Regions from separate parts of the Homo sapiens genome. Here all the other regions are linked to region 1. The links are contacts of gene promoters, found by promoter capture Hi-C in human tissues and cell types (Jung and others, 2019). All regions are on one chromosome and are shown on one strand. Each heading gives the region's core, a stretch centred on a gene start or on the middle of the fragment in contact. The rest is flanking DNA. Distances are from core to core; before and after follow the strand shown. Region 1 holds the start of PTPRZ1 (protein tyrosine phosphatase receptor type Z1). Region 2 has its middle 130 kb from the start of PTPRZ1. Region 3 has its middle 230 kb from the start of PTPRZ1. Region 4 has its middle 230 kb from the start of FAM3C. Region 5 overlaps PTPRZ1 (protein tyrosine phosphatase receptor type Z1).

What was found. The method cuts DNA at HindIII sites, captures the fragments that hold promoters and counts their contacts. A contact is called where the count stands out against the background at its distance.
Region 2: a fragment that was not itself captured here is called in contact with the fragment with the promoter of PTPRZ1 in region 1 in 1 of the 25 tissues and cell types used here (hippocampus).
Region 3: a contact is called between a fragment that was not itself captured here and the fragment with the promoter of PTPRZ1 in region 1, in 2 of the 25 tissues and cell types used here (H1 embryonic stem cells and dorsolateral prefrontal cortex).
Region 4: a fragment that was not itself captured here is called in contact with the fragment with the promoter of PTPRZ1 in region 1 in 2 of the 25 tissues and cell types used here (H1 embryonic stem cells and hippocampus).
Region 5: a fragment that was not itself captured here is called in contact with the fragment with the promoter of PTPRZ1 in region 1 in 2 of the 25 tissues and cell types used here (H1 embryonic stem cells and adrenal gland).

The regions. Positions count from the first base shown.
Region 1 is chr7:121,871,583-121,874,558 of GRCh38, forward strand. It overlaps PTPRZ1 (protein tyrosine phosphatase receptor type Z1), which reads left to right and starts at 1,579. Exons shown (of 30, transcript NM_002851.3): 1 at 1,579-1,975. The coding sequence starts at 1,918. RefSeq lists an enhancer at 1,535-2,036. The HindIII fragment of the contact is 8,425 bases long and covers 1-2,976 here.
Region 2 is chr7:121,738,419-121,741,825 of GRCh38, forward strand. No RefSeq gene overlaps it. Among named protein-coding and RNA genes, the nearest start is that of PTPRZ1, 130 kb to the right of the region's middle. The HindIII fragment of the contact is 5,727 bases long and covers 1-3,407 here.
Region 3 is chr7:121,641,874-121,645,230 of GRCh38, forward strand. No RefSeq gene overlaps it. Among named protein-coding and RNA genes, the nearest start is that of PTPRZ1, 230 kb to the right of the region's middle. The HindIII fragment of the contact is 6,391 bases long and covers 1-3,357 here.
Region 4 is chr7:121,622,251-121,625,589 of GRCh38, forward strand. No RefSeq gene overlaps it. Among named protein-coding and RNA genes, the nearest start is that of FAM3C, 230 kb to the left of the region's middle. The HindIII fragment of the contact is 9,273 bases long and covers 1-3,339 here.
Region 5 is chr7:122,006,782-122,009,955 of GRCh38, forward strand. The region is part of intron 11 of PTPRZ1 (protein tyrosine phosphatase receptor type Z1); the gene reads left to right. Among named protein-coding and RNA genes, the nearest start is that of PTPRZ1, 140 kb to the left of the region's middle. The HindIII fragment of the contact is 3,900 bases long and covers 1-3,174 here.

The sequences.
Region 1 (2,976 bases), core at 329-2,828:
TTTATACACCTGCATACTTCTTGTAATGCTAGCAAAAAAAAATGGCCCCCAAATTTTCTTCCTATATGGAAACTCACATGAGCAGCCATCAATCCCCATCATAATTCTTGTAAAAGTTGTAGCATTTCTATTTCTGTTCATGGAAAGAATAAGATCAAGGATCAACTTCTTAATATTGATATGTGTTTCTGAATAAACACTAAATGGTTTCAAAATCTGTTATTACATGACTATAATCTATTCCTGAAGCAACAGCAAACTGCCATTAGCTTGCACATTTAGCCAAATGTTCACAGGCTGGGATATTAGCAAGAACTCGTAGTAACACTTGAAATACATTCAGAACCCAATTTTATGTGCAGGAAGTTTTCTTTAAAATTTTTAAAGCTAGAATACTATTTTTGAGACAAGAACAGGACACAAGAGTATACACTGTACAGATACCTACTTCAAATTGTTACTAAGAATACATGGGATAATTCCACAACTTGGCTTTCTGTGCCTTAGATGGGACTCCTAAAAGGCTCTAAAGTGGGTCTCATATACGAAAAACATGTACTAATAGTTAAAGGATATCATATAAATGAAAATCTCATAAATTTTCAGTGTAGAGACTACCACCAATTACCTTCTCATTATTTCCTTTTGGCTTCAAATTAATTCAACAAATATTCAGGGAACACCTATTGATTTTTTTTAAGGCCATTTTGCTAGGATCTGGGGTTATAGTAATAAAGGTAAACTCCCTGCCATCAAGGCGCTCACAGTCTAATTCTGAACACCACCAAAGAAAAGAGCACATGAGGGTGACATTTCCAGCTCTAAGGCAGCAGAAGGTATGCATTATACATTTTTTGCATACCCTTCAATCAAGCAATAAAAAATCTTCCCGTTCGACCCTGTGGGAGGAGGCACTTGTGTGGTTCGGTCTGGCAGGACCACCGCCGTGTTGAAAGTCCCCCCAGACAGCTGTGCCCAGCACGGCAGTTTCGTTGGGGTCTAGGGAAAGGGCAGGGTCAGACTGGTCACAATCAGGGCTGGAGATTTTTTGGAGTCAACTCTCCCAAAGGCAATGGGGTCTACTGCTTTATTAGGAAAATGGAAAGAAAAAAGGGAGGGAAACAATGTACCCAGGCGCCCCCACCGCATTCTGATTGGACCCACTTAAGCATCTGCAGAAAACAATAAAATGAAAAAAACTCTTAGAGGTGAAACTCAAAGGTCAACCTCTGGCTGTGCGGGACAATGGGTGTCCGGCCTTCCCTTCCCTTCCCTTCCGAAGTGATGAAGGAGTTCCAATGTTCTGCGAACACTGGAAACCCCAGCGGATCCCTCTAACTCCAGGGCAGCGAAACCACTGGCAGCGGACAGAGGGAGGATTGTCGGTGTGTGAATTGCTACCCTGGGATCCGGACCCAGAGCGGCAGCCGCGCCCCTCCGCCCCCCGCGCGACCCCGGGTCCGAGGCACGCTCCCAGCGGAGCGGTCCTGCGCCCCCGCCCCCTCCAGGAGCCGCGGCGCGCACAGCCGGGCTGGAGCGCGCACCCGGCACTGAGGCTTCGCTGCTCTCGGAGCGCTCAGACCGCGGCCGCCGCAGCCGGCGAAAGAGGCAAAGTCCCGCACGCCGGAGGACATGCGCCTCGGCTAGCGGCCCCGGGCCCCACCACCGTGCGGCTTTCTCCAGATTATTCCTCTCTCGCTGTCTCTGACTGTCTCTCTCTGTCTCTGTCTCTGTCTCTCTCTCTCTCACACACACACACACACACACAAACACACATACGCACGCACGATCTCACTTCGATCTATACACTGGAGGATTAAAACAAACAAACAAAAAAAACATTTCCTTCGCTCCCCCTCCCTCTCCACTCTGAGAAGCAGAGGAGCCGCACGGCGAGGGGCCGCAGACCGTCTGGAAATGCGAATCCTAAAGCGTTTCCTCGCTTGCATTCAGCTCCTCTGTGTTTGCCGCCTGGGTGAGTGAGAAGAGCTCGGTGGGGTTTCAGCTCCGGGATCGGTGGGATGAGGGTGGGAGCATTTCAGCGTGTCCGCGACTTGCCGCCGCCGCCGCCATCTAGCCAGGAGGAAAAAGGGACAGCCAACTGGGCTCCCACGGAGCGGGCGGCCGCGCGGTGCAGGCAGCTGCGTGGGATTTGCGCGCCCCCTCCCCGCCCCGCGCCCTCGCCCCTTCCATCGGCCCGCGGGCATTCGTGCCCCGGGCCCCAGGAGACGGAGCTACTGGAGACGGAGGGCTACTCGGATCCCTGCCGCCACCGTTCTTCTCTCCTCTTTTGCAAAGTGTAGAAATCGCCTTTTAGATATACATAGGAAGATAAATGACCAGAAATACAGCTGTGGTGCGGGGCTGTGTACTGTACTGTCTTTTTTGCTGTTCATTTTTATGCTATAGGTATGATGGGCTTAAATGGAAAGTACACGTGTCTGGTGTGAATTGCAGACACACACACACACACACACACACACCTGAAAGGTAGTAACAGGCACAAGCACCAACCTGACTTTTCAGGGTTTTTTTTATTACTTTCAATTTAGTCATATTCAAGTCTGCGCAATTACTTACAAAAAAAAAAGTTCCATCTAAATCTCTAGGTTTGGTCAGTGCTGCCAAAGTCAGAGGAGAGCTGCAGGTTGATATACTTATTCACAGATTTCATTTTTCATCTGCACCCTCCAGGTTACATTTAAAACTGAAATTGCATTCAGCAATAGCCAGTTTAAGCATTCCCTTTACCTGCGATGCAGACTCAAGTTTTCCAGTCATTTTCGAGAAGTGCAAGATTGGACTTTTGCGTTTTATTAAAGAAATGCTTTTTTTCCTTCATGATTTTCCATCGCGATAGAATATAATGGGTTTACGCATTAACCTGAAAGTTACAAAGTGTTGTACTTCGCTTTGTGAGTACACATATTTAATTCTTTTCAGAGGCTCCCAATTTTTCAATTTTAGATGGTTCAT
Region 2 (3,407 bases), core at 433-2,932, 130 kb before region 1:
TCAGATTTAATACTCAACTGAAACTAATCTCCCTACCATGAGTGAAAAGTAGAAGATGTGTGTCCCTAATTTAGATTTTAATTTTATCTAATCATTAATTCATTTTTGCATACAAGCTATGTTCTGTCAAATTAATTAATTAGGGCAATTTCTTATGGTCGCACATGCCAAACATTATAAGGGATTAAGAAAGGGCTATCAAATTGGCTGGGCGCAGTGGCTCATGCTTGTAATCCCAGCACTTTGGGAGGCCCAGGCGGGAGGATCACGAGGTCAGAAGATCAAGACCGTCCTGGCCAACATGGTGAAACCCCGTCTCTACTAAAAATACAGAAAAATTAGCCAGGCATGGCAGCACGCACCTGTAGTCCCAGATACTCAGGAGGCTGAGGCAGGAGAATTGCTTAAATCCGGGAGGTGGAGGCTGCAGTGTGCCAAGATTGTGCCACTGCACTCCAGCCTGGCGACAGAGTGAGACTCCGTCTAAAAAAATAAAAAACAAAGGAAGTGCTATCAAATTAAGTTTTTAATTTGATCTAATTTGATAAGAAGCAATATCTGGCGATAAAATTGCAAAGAGAGATAAGCTCCTAATTTTGGATTAAAACACTCAGAAACTCCAAACTACATAGTGTTATCATAATACTTTATAGCCAGGCTTTGTATCTAGGCTCTGTTATTTTGCAAGCAACTTACTTTAACCTCTTTCAGCTTTAGCTTTCTCTTGGGTAAAATGAATAGCATATATATAATACTTGGAAAATATTAAATTTATGTGTTCTTATTTCTCTGTGTAAATCGTGTTCCCTTGATGCTACCCCCAGAATGAGGAGGATATGACATTAGGAGAAGTCACTGACATACAGTAAAGGCGAAAAAAAAAAAAAGGAAAAAGAAAAACAAGAAAACTTTTCTGGACCTAGAGGAGGAGGAGGAAAGGGAACAGGGAGTGAAAACAGTGGTCAGGCAGTGACCTAAATTCCAACCCCGCCCCCCAAACCTCACGATTCAAACCTAAAGCATGCACCGGAGAGCAAGGATTAGGTTTTAAAAGGAGAATCAGTCAAAGGGGATATGGGGAAACCTTTAACCCAACTTCTTTGTTCAGACACTGGAAGGAAATTACCTCAGAGGAAAACAAAACGGGGCTGTCACATCAGAATAAAAATGGTGGTTAGCAGATGAGATGCCCGAAATGAATGTGCTGAGTGGGAATTTCAGCCCAGCCACAGCCCAACTGTGATTGACAACACAGTTAGAGGCAAGGTTGGGCTGAGGCAACAGAGATGGCCAAACAACATGGGAGCTTCACCAATATTTCACAGCTGTGGACTTCAACATAAGAGCCTGCGTTACCTTAAAGCACAGTATAAGTGTGAGGATCCATCTTCATCACAAGAAGGCACATAAAACTTAACTTCCTTATTTAGAGTCCATCTGGAAAAGGAAGAGATAGAAGAAAATAGGAAAGATGAAGTATTTACACCTTCCACAAAAAGGGATGGTAATATGGTGGGAAACACTAACTTGCTTTAAGATTTTTTTAACAGATAAAATTGTAGCTATTTACTGCATACAACATGATATTTTGAATAAGCCAGGCACAGTAAGACAAATACCGTATGATCTCACTCAGATGTGGCATCTAAGAAAGTTGATCTCATAAAAGTAGAGAGTAGAATGGTGGTTACCAGAGGCTGAGGTGGTTGGGGAGCATGGGGGTTGGGCAAAGGATACAAAATTTCAGTTAAATAGGAGAAATAAGTTCAAGAGATATATTGTGCAAAGTGGTGACTACAGTTAATAATATATTGTATTCTTGCAACGTGCTAAGAGAGTGATGTAAAGTATTCTCATCACAAAAATCGTAACTATGTGAGGCAATTTATTTTATTTGGAAAGTTGTCCTCATTCCTCCCACCCTGCACCCCTACTACAGATTGAAATAAAATATGGTACACTGTCTCTCTCTCTCTCTCTCTATATATATATATATACACACACACACACATATATAGTTTTATCTATATTTTAATTAAATGTATACACACAACTATATATGTAATATATGTGTATGTCTATATATAGTATATATATACTATATATAGTATATACACACATATATCTACTATATATGTCATATATATGATATATCTACTATATATCATATCTACTTTAATATATAGTATATATAAAATATATATAAGATATGGTATATCTACTATATATCTACATATATAGTAGATATATATACTATATATCTACATATATAGTAGATATATATACTATATATCTACATATATAGTAGATATATATACTATATATCTACATATATATGTAGATATATATACTATATATCTACTACATATATCTACATATATAGTAGATGTGTCTACTATATATCACATATATAGTAGATATATATGTGATATATAGTAGATATATGTGTGTATACACGATATGATTATACACACTCTGAGTTAAATGTATAAATTTTCAGCCATATTTACAAAATTTTTTAAAAGAAGCACAGAGCCCAGCCAGTGTTTCAAATGCGTTAACTGCCTAATAAAAGCATTTTCATTCACATTTAACATGCTTTGTTGAGTTGTTGAGTTACTGAGTGTTAATATGGCAGGCTTTCTGCTAGGCACTAGATACCACCATAGGTGGTCAAGGCACATTGATAGGGTCCCTGATTCCAGTGGGTTGTAAGGTTATAACAGGGATATTTAAACTAACTTGACTCTCAGAGTGAATTAACGCCTCGGGCTTCATAGGCAAGCCTTAATATATCAGTGGAGAGAAAAAAAAAAACACTATACAAAAAGAAGGAAAGAAGAGAGGGGCAAGAGTGGATGTAGTAACACTTCACCAACAATTATCCTGACTATTTCCAGGATATTTTGTATCTTACACAGCCAATGCTCATGCCTGACCTAATTCTAAAAGGAAAGTTAATGGGGACGACCATGAATGGCAACAGCATGGCTCACTGAGTTTTCAAGAGCTGATTCAGTCTGCCCCAAGGAGGTTCATCTTGCTGGTTAAATCATATCTTTTGAGAATCGGGAAAATTCAAGATGTTTGATGCTTGTAATACCGGTTACTAAAAGCTGGTCCTAGTTTTTAATCTATATTTTAATTAAATATAATTTTTATGACAAAACGTTTGTAATTTATAGCAGTTTTCTCACTCAATTATTTGAGTATAACAGGAGAGAGGATGCTATTTTTCTATGCTGCAACAATACTCATTTATAGGGGCTGTTAATGGTTTGGGGTATTTCACATACCTAACTGCAAGCCATATAATATTATAATGAGGTACTAAGGACCATTATTAATTTAATAATTCAAAGTTTAAATGCTGCAAAAAGAGCAACATTGAACAATTATTCCAGTTC
Region 3 (3,357 bases), core at 662-3,161, 230 kb before region 1:
ATTTATATAGTCAGAAACCAACTATATGAATATCTAGTACTAATCATGCTTTAATATCAAATCTTTATCAGAATTGCTGGGGGTCATCAAATTTGGTAGGGAACATCAAAGCCTTGGTGCTCTTTTCTTATGCAGCTTGTTGCATTATTAATATGTGTCACCTGAAATTTTCTAACATACATATAACCTTTTGGAAACAAATTTAAATCCCTATTATAGCTAACATCATGCTTCAAGTTTCTAAAATTCAATAATTCCTTTGAAGTAGTTAAGAATGATAAAGAAAGAAAATTAATAGACTTTTTCTCTTATTAGAAAGAATAGGCTGTGTCAAGAAGGAAGCAAATGACAAATGAACAGCATGGGTATTGCAAAAGTTCTTTTTGGTTCTTTAATTATTTTTGTCATACACTTAGTTTAAAGGTCAAATAATCTGGTAGTTTTATAAGAAAAAAATCCCAGAACCACCCCCACCCAAACACACGTATTTCTTCTTTTCAGAAGCAATCCTTTCATCAATTTTCATATTTATTTTGAAATTAACCCCTATGTCCCTGAATCATATGCTTGATACGTCCTTTCATGATGTTCCTGTCTTAGGCTGTGCTTACTGACCAGAATAAAATTTTCTCTTTGGAAAAGAAAAATTTTAACTCTATTTTCTTTACTGTTACCTCTGAATGGTAACTTTTTTACTTTCATCCTCCAACATAATTTTATTTTATTTATATACATTTCATATTAATTTTGTATAAATATTTTGTGTTTATATAACTGTGCAAATACAATTTATGATATATGGATGTATTACCCCTGCTAATTTTTTTCCTACACACAGCTTTTATTTCTTGGTATTTATTGTTTTGTTGTTGGCCTCGTTGCTGCTGCCAATTATTTGGTGTACTATGTACTTTCTATGTACTTCTCAATAATTCAATCTCAATCTCATTGGCATATGTCTTGCTCATCTCCATACATTCGAATGTATCAGGTATGCTGTCAGTTTTATCTTTCCAAAGATATCTTTTCTCATATTGGAAGTCCAAAAATCCTGTATTTGAGAATAAAAGTCAGTTATTTTATTTGCTTATTTATTTTGCTGGAGGTGATGGATGTATAGACTTACTTATTATCAAATAGAGTTTCAACCGTTCTCCACTTTCAGAGGATGGTACCATCAATTTCTGAAAGTTTGGAAGATATGAATATAGAATTTATTTGGGGTAGGTGGGTGGGGGGGGTCTTTTAAATTCACTTATTTATTTTCTTTTGGTCCAAACTTTTGTTGCTATTCTCTTTTCTACAATCCTTCACATCTTTTTTTGAGTTTGTATATTTTAAAATTCCCTTTATTAGTGTTTTAATGGGTTTGGGGGGGGAATAAAATAAAATCATTATTTTTATTCAACAGCCCCTGAGATAGTTTCTTGTAATGAAAGAATTGACACCAACCTCAGTGGTTTGGGCTCAGCTATTATTTTTATTTAGCTATTTTCAGATTATAGAACCTGAGAATGTGAGGATATAGAATAGCTACTGCTCTAAACAGCATCCAGTCAGGCTATATTTGTGATGATCCTTTTCTTGCCTTCTTATCTGTTCCTAAAAACAGTAGGAAAAAAAATGAAGTTTGTAGCACTGAGTAATAGCAACAGAAGAAACAAGGGAAACATATTATGTCATCTGTGAACACTTCCAACATTTTATTTATATCACATCATAGTTCTAATCACATTGTAGAGAAAATTATCTCTTACCATATTTGCTTTCAGTTGAATGAGAGCTTCTCCAAGGACTTTCGCTTCCAATTTTCCATCTCTTGAACCTTGCACACTACTTGGCAGGAGGTTAGAGCACATTGAACGTGTCAGGCCTTCTTGCCTTGCTATAAAGAAGTAACCAGAACAGAGTAACTTATAAAGAAAAGAGGTTTAATTGGCTCATGGTTCTGCAGGTTGTACAGGAAGTGTGCTAGCATCTGCTTCTGGCTAGAGCCTCAGGGAACTTACAGTCATAGCAGAAGGTGAAGATGAACCAACACATCACATAGGGAAAGCAGGAAGAAGAGAACAAGTCAGGGGGTGCCACGCACTTTTAAACAACCAGATCTCATATGAACTCAGAGTAAGAACTATCTTACTATTTCTATCACAAGGACAGCATCAAGCTATTCATGAGGGATCCACCACTATGACAAAACCACCTCCCACCAGGCTCCACCGCCAACACTGGGGATTGCATTGCAACATGAGATTTGGAGGGGACAAACATCCAAACTGTATCACTGCATAATACTGAAGGAAAAAGATTGAATGGCTATCATTCCTACAAATATCACTTTCAGGGCTGTACCACTGTCATTTTTTAAGCAGCTGCTCGGTGCCCACTGATTTCGGCAGTGTCAACATATGCTGAAGTGCATTCACTTCATTTTAGCCGATTCATTCACTTCAAACTATTTAAAAACTGATGCAACTCACTGCATGGCTGGTTCAGATGTAACAATCATGTTTTGTTCTATGAATAATAAATGAATAGATGACATGATTCAATTAAGAATCTAGGATGAAATATTTTTGAGGAAGCAGTGAATGGAAGAAAATTATCCAAATATGACTGAACACCTGCTCAGTTTATAATTTTTCTTTCAAAGAAAGGAGTGGTTATTAGAAAAGCAAAGCTATAGAAGAGACAATAGAGAGAAAAAAGGGTAAAATGATTCAAAACAAAAAAAAAACAAAATTTCTGAGTGGTAATGTACTTTTAAAAAAAAAAATGGAAGGACAGAATTAGTGCTGCCAAAATGTACAAACTCTTTCTCCCCATTTTTTCTCCTTGTGTGTTCACAGAGGCTTTAAAAGTGAACAATATCTAAAACTTGGAATTACACCACAGTTTAATCTTGAGAAAAAATCATGAGGAAGGACATTTCTCCAGGTAGCTAAAATAAATGCTGGTGTTTGAGCTGGGAGCATTGATTACTCAGGGATTCAGCAAATGTATCTTAGACATATAGTGGATTCTTGGATAGGGGATACCACTGTGGATTCAATATTAACCATTACTTTTGTTTTCAAGAAGTTTGGCATTTTCTAATATGAGAAAAACAGACAGTGAGTATGCAAATATGCAGATAGATATAATAAATTTAAGTATGTATTAAGGGGAAAGGTGACTTAAAATTTTTCTGTCTCTTCTGCAGAGAAGAGCTCCTTGGGAAATTGTAGAGAGAGAACTTGGCAACATGTTTTTCTATTTCTTCTTGTTTTACTTTTAACAGCTTTATTGAGATATGCTTACATACAAAATAATTCCCCTATTATAAATGTACAATTTGATTATTTTAGAAAGTTACAT
Region 4 (3,339 bases), core at 13-2,512, 250 kb before region 1:
ATTAATACTATAAATGCATATGTTCTTAGACCTAGCAAATCCTCCTTCTAAGGATTTTTCTGTTATTTCGGAAAATTTTAGATTTTCTTTCATATTTTGAAATTTCATAATACTATGTCTGGCTGTGAGGTTTTCCTTATCTTTCCTATGTCCCCTTAAGGCCTTGCAGTCTTAAGTCTTTCAACAAAACTTATCCTCATTATTTCTCAAATAGTCTCTTCTTGCCTTATTCCTTTTCTTTTTCATTGTAACTTCTATTATCTCAGTTTTGGCACTTCTACAGCTGTACTCCATATTTCCTAGCTTTCTTTTTCTATTTTCTGCTGAATTCAAGTAATTTAAAAGTTGTTATCCAACCAATCTTACTATTGTTATATCTGTACTGTACCTCTCAACCCAAGCGCCTTGTTTTCCCCAAAAGTTTGTCACAGGTTTTTGTTAGATTCTTAGATCCACGTTTTCCTCTTTTTTTTTTTTTTTTTTTTTTTTCCTGCTTTGTTTCTGTTTGTTGTTTCACCATAGCTGTTTTGGGAAAAAGGAATTAGTAGCTTGGACTAGTTCAATATCTAGTCAGGGTCCCAGATGATTCTTAAGTATAGTACACTAAAATGCAAGAACCTCTGTTTTAAAGTTTGAACTAATGCATGAATTATATTTTCATAGACGATTAGATCTGGCTTCAGATTCCAGCTCTGTCTTATATTAACTGTGTTTGACTTACCATAATTATTTAACCTTTCTAAGCTACATTCTTCAACAATCAAATTAAAATAATATTTACCTTACCTGCCTCACCTACCATGAGGATAAACAACAAATTCTGTAAGGCATAAATAAAGTAAGTTTGGTGGCGGCCATTTGGAAACTAAAACTTAGAAGAGCAGAATAGTAAAAACTTTAACTATACTCCCATAAAGGCATCCTGATGATCTGGAAGTTTCGTGTGCTTTTCTGCTGATCAGTCCCACTCGTGGATTGTTAAAATGAGTAAAATGAATGAGTCAGCCATTCAGTGTAGTGCTCATCATTCACAGATAAGCAGCTAGGCTAGAGCACTGGTAAGACCATAAATAATCATATATTCTGTCAAGTTTCTCCTTATACTCCAAAGCAATCGCATAGCATCGTGTATAGATGATGAATGAGGCTGAAATGATTGGGTGAGCTGTGCAGTGGTATTGTATGGTGACTGTAGAAATGACCACTCAAATGTCCATTTCTTAACTAGCCAGATATACAGCCAATGCATTTCAGACAGATTGCTTTTGACAAGCCAGTAATCAAATCTATGTTTGGGACCAAGAAGCTAAATGGCAGAAAATGCAATGTCATTAACGTCTTTTAGAGAAATACCATAGTGTGTGTCAAGTATATGGAAAGCGCATGAACTGATAAGTATGTGCTCATCTTGGGGGAAAAGCCTCCAGGCTATGTCCCAGAAGACCTCACCTAACCACTTGATGGCCACTGTTCCTTTGATCATTTCTGAAGGCTAGATCTGTTTCTCAGTCTTGCAGCTCACAAACTTGACATTTTCTTTTTCCTTTTACTTTGTTCTTTTGTTTAGCACTCCTGCCCACATCTCAGGGGCAAACTTATATAAAACTTCAAAACTGATGTATAAACCTTGAATATTAATTTGTTAATTTGTGGGAAGAGATTATAGTGTATATTGGCAGCACATTCTTTTCTTGCAGGAAGAACTACATGGAAAGCTAAATAATAATTACAAGACTGCTTAGTAAATATAGAATCACAGAAAAGAAAGCTAGCTAGGAGAATAGGAGTCAGGTAGTCTAATGCATTTAGCTACACAGTAGATATTGTCTTGAGAATGAACCCAGAATGCCTGGAGTCCTTTGGCTATGGCCACCTCCACTGGACAATTGTTAGATAGACACTGCCAATGTTCAACTCAGTGCCTTTCTGACTTTTCTTTGAAAGAAAGCCTCAAGGGCTGATATGGTTTAAAGTGGATCTCTTAGGAATCCAATGATAGTATTTCTGGGTGGATCAGAAGGCCAAGATATAATCTCAGAGGGAAGGAAAGAAAAATAAATTGGCTGATGAACAATTGCTTCACTTACCAAAATTAATAAATGAAATAAAAAATTATTTTAGGTGAGCAATCAAACATTTATAATATGTCAGTCACTGTGTGCTAAGTGTTCCAGATATAGAGTATTTAAGATAAATATTAACCTTAAAGAGCTTACAGTCTAAGTGGGGAATAAATCACTTCAACAATGTACTCAATAGAGCTGAACAGAAATTGAATAGCAGTAGTCCACAGTAAGAAGAATATTCTTACTGCTTTTTTATCTACTTAATCCAAAATTCTCTCCTCTCTCAAGGAAACCAAGTTTGGGTTCCTATGCAATCTTTTGACTTTATCTTCTGCTAGTTTTCAAGTTTCCTAATATAGGAAAGAATGCAGACAATACTGGGTACAAGCATTAGCTGTGTCTGTAGTAATAATAAACCAGGGTCTTCACAGAACATGAAGTCCAGCCTGGCTGGTGCTCTACCTCCTCCACACTCCTTTTTTAGCTTAATCTATGTTCCAGTGGATGCATGCCTTCCCAGGAAATGATGCTCTGTGCCTCATCACCTGACTCTAAACTTCCGTTTTAGGATCTAAATAGCTGAGTATGTATAAATTTGATCTGGAAAGAATCAGAAAAATATATTTCCACGGAAAAAAATATCAAAATTGTTTTTTATTAGAGAAAAGCTCACAGTACTGCTAGACTGGCTCAATGTGATTCAATTATTTATTTTGTGGACAGCAGGGGCAGAGTTGCTCCCCCTCAACCTTTTCTCCACTTTGTGGGAATATTGCTAAGAAGGCACAGCCATGATGTGCTGCCTCGGAAAACTGCCCAGTGGACTGACGTCATGGGAATTTGCTGAGCCTGTTTCATGGAGGTCATCTAATTCTCAGCATAAGGGTTTTGAGCAGGAAACCCTCTATGTTTCTTTGCTAATGAACCCAAAATCACCAGCCCAAAAAATCGACACTGCATTTCATTAACACAGCTTTCCCAGAAAATAGCCTGATGCCAGGCAACCACTAGTATTGCTTTTATAATCTAAGCTGGCTCATATAGACCCTGTGAAGTTCTGTCCCAAATGTGTTACTTTATCAATCTGGACCACAGAGCCTTTGACTCGTAGTTTCAAGCAGTTTTTAAATTCTTCCTTAGCAAAATGTTGCTGTTTCTATATCAATAGTATATCATCTCTAAAGCCCTGGGAAAGAAAATAGAATTCTCACCCTATGAGAAATAGCCAAACATGTAATTTAGGTAGAGTAAAAATTGTGACATTGTGAAAAGG
Region 5 (3,174 bases), core at 17-2,516, 130 kb after region 1:
GTGGAGTCATGGAGGTTAATTTAATCAAAAAGGATGATTCACAGGTGTGGGAAGTCTTAATGCAAACAAACAAGGGGTGGCATTGTACATTTGGTATGAATTATATCAGGGACTCGTTGTTACATCTAAACTGAAAGGCAAGAGGGCAAGGAGAAGGTGCAGAGAGAATGGCACAGCAGATGCTGTGGCCTCTGTAATGAGACAGCACCATCCTGTGGTGACCAGTTAGGTAAGGAACCTCCCAAGGAATAACCACATTATCTGGCCACCCGCCTAGAATGAATGGAGACAGGTGGAGAGAGGCTGTGGAAAGCAAAATGAGAATATACAACACACTGAGGAAGGAGTCACCTGAGAAAGCAGAGTAGAATTAAAAATCAATGTCATTACTTGTTGGTAGAAGGCTATGATCTAGAGGAAAATGAGGAGGAGAAAGAATTCTTATGACATTAGGCTTATTTGGTTTGTGGGGCTTTACCCATGGTGGTAGTACCCAAAGAAACAGCAGCTCTAATTCTTTGAGCTGGAAGAATCCTTGGCACTGCCAAGGGGGAGGGAACCAGCTACCACCACACAGATGGGGATTTAAAATAAAGGATACAGGAGCAGTGATTGGTAAGCTTGGCTTGGTAAATTGGTAGTAGTTCTTGCTATTGAAATTAACTATTGTATTAATAATATATTGTCAAATCGAAAGAGACCCATGTCACAATATGTCTTCCTGGAGCATGATTATGAGATGGGATGAAAACACTTCTTAACCAATCCACTATTCACTTCCTTTGCTTCATGCAGGAATGAATGACAGGCTGGAAAATGCATGGAATATATTCATAATGACTTTTAATCCCTGAATATAGAAATAAAGAGTTTGAAGGATATTTCTTAGATCCTCTCCAAACAGAAATGTATGACTTTGCAAGACAAAGTATCTGTAGCATGATCATGGCTTTACACTAACTTTTAAAAATGAAGTTGTGAAGGATAACATATGACACAGATCAAAACTACAGTGGAAGAGTCACAATAACTCTATAAAGAAATTGTAGGAAAGAGTATTTGTTAAAATATTTGTAGTCAGATATGAATAAAGTAATCATAGGGTATGAATGATATGTTCTTCTTAAAATGTTGACATAGCCAATGTGACCTTACAGCGATCAACAAGATATGGTAGGGTAGGATTAATGAAGGTCTAATCACCCTCACTGGGTTCTGAGAGGTTCTGAACCTCATAAAGTTTATAGAACGCATATGTATCTGATGTGTGCATAGTTTTTTCCCAACTATGTAATAAGAAGAGGTGTGTAGCATTATGTTACAATAAAAATTTTATGAAAATTTACATTGCTTATAGGAGGATATGATAAAGGATGTTTATGTGGAAATATAAGCAAAGAGAAAGAAATGTAATATTATTGTGGAAGTCAATAGACATTGTTAGATCATATAGAGAAAATGGATGACATATCTTTGGGGAACTTTTGCTGTGAAGGAGAGACGAGAAGTAGAATGATAACTAGAAGGTGAATTAGAGGTTTTCCTTTGTGTTTCCTTTAAATAAGAGAGATCAGAGTTGATTTAAGCTGATGAGAATTATCTGTTTGAGAATTTGAGAAAACAAATCAGAAACACAAAATAGACTGAACTACTCAATTATGTTCAATTCCCAGGTTCATGATAGGGACTAGATCTAAAACACAGAAGTGCGAATTAGCTTTAGAAAGGAAGGAAAACAACTCTTTAGTTATAACAGGACAGGAGGGGCAGAGATAACTTGGTTGGTCCCTGTTTTTATGTTAAGAAGAAGTGTGTCTTTGGTGGCTTCTATTTTCCCTGAAAACAGGAAGGCCATCTGCTGAGAATGGGAGGAAAGGATAGGAAAATGAAGGTTTGACAGAGTTTTGGTAGAGAGAAGGAGTGTGGAGTGATACCAGAAAACTAGGCAAATATTTAGGTTTGCAAAAACAAGGAAGAGTTTAGAAACTCCACACTGCCAAGCTTAACATTGATCCCCAGCAAAACTCTGCATCACATTATAAAACAAATATTTATGAGAACTTCTAAGGAAAGAAGAGATAATTGGCACCAACCAATTTTCCCTAAAAGCAAGTCAAGGCAAATTATTCTCATTTCCTTTTGCATTAAGTTTTTAGGTTTGTAGATTATAGGAATATTTTATTTAGGAAATTATTTGGGAAAATCTCTCAGGTGGTCCTTGTGAACAAGGTATCACACAGAATGTAAAACTTCATAAAGAATACTGACTACTTGTAAGGAAATTTTTCAAGGGAATCTGAGAGAGTAGCCATTTTTAGCACTCAATATAATTCAGATCAAGTGCACTAACTTCCTAAAGTTGTCACTTATGCTTCAGAAGATACTCACGACCAGCCAAATAATTAAGCTGTAAATAATGAGGCAGCCATTAAGCTTGGAATCGTGTGTTTCATACAGTGCAGATTTCCGTGTGTATGACACATGCTCATGAGCACACACAGCTTAAGATTCAGATTCTTTCTACTGATACTGGTCAAGTTCTCAATGGCTGTACTCAGTAATTTTTTTCTTTTAAGGAACATGGCCTTAAAATATCTAATAGATGATCAAATAAATGACAATTCTAACAAGCTGTTGGGTACAAAGATACTGACAAAATCATGTCCCACATGAACTAAAAAAAAAAAAAAAACTTGATAACTTTGGCAATTGAGTTTTCTAAGTATATAATTAGATATAATATACCCAGTTTTATGTATATATACGTATATGTATATATATACATATATTGAATCTTCCATGCAATGAAGATTATGCTTAAAGCATAGGTCTTGGTTAACTTCTAGCTAGAAGACTAGACGTCTCCTCCTGGGTCATTGCATGGAAGATTCAGCCTCCTGAATGGTGATTCTAAGGGAAACACAAAATTAAAAAACTAGGAGTAGAATCATATATTGACAAGTTGCCTTTGAAATATCTGCCTAAGTCTTAAGTGGAAAATATTAAAAAACAAAAGGAAAAGAAAACCAAACACCTCTTTTAGTTCTAAATCTTCCCCTTATTATGACCTTAAAATTATGATTTGCTCTAAATAGATATAATTAAATATTCTGAATGTTCAACTACTTTGGTCTTTAAAATAGTTTCATCGCCAATTCTTATTACAATAAGCTA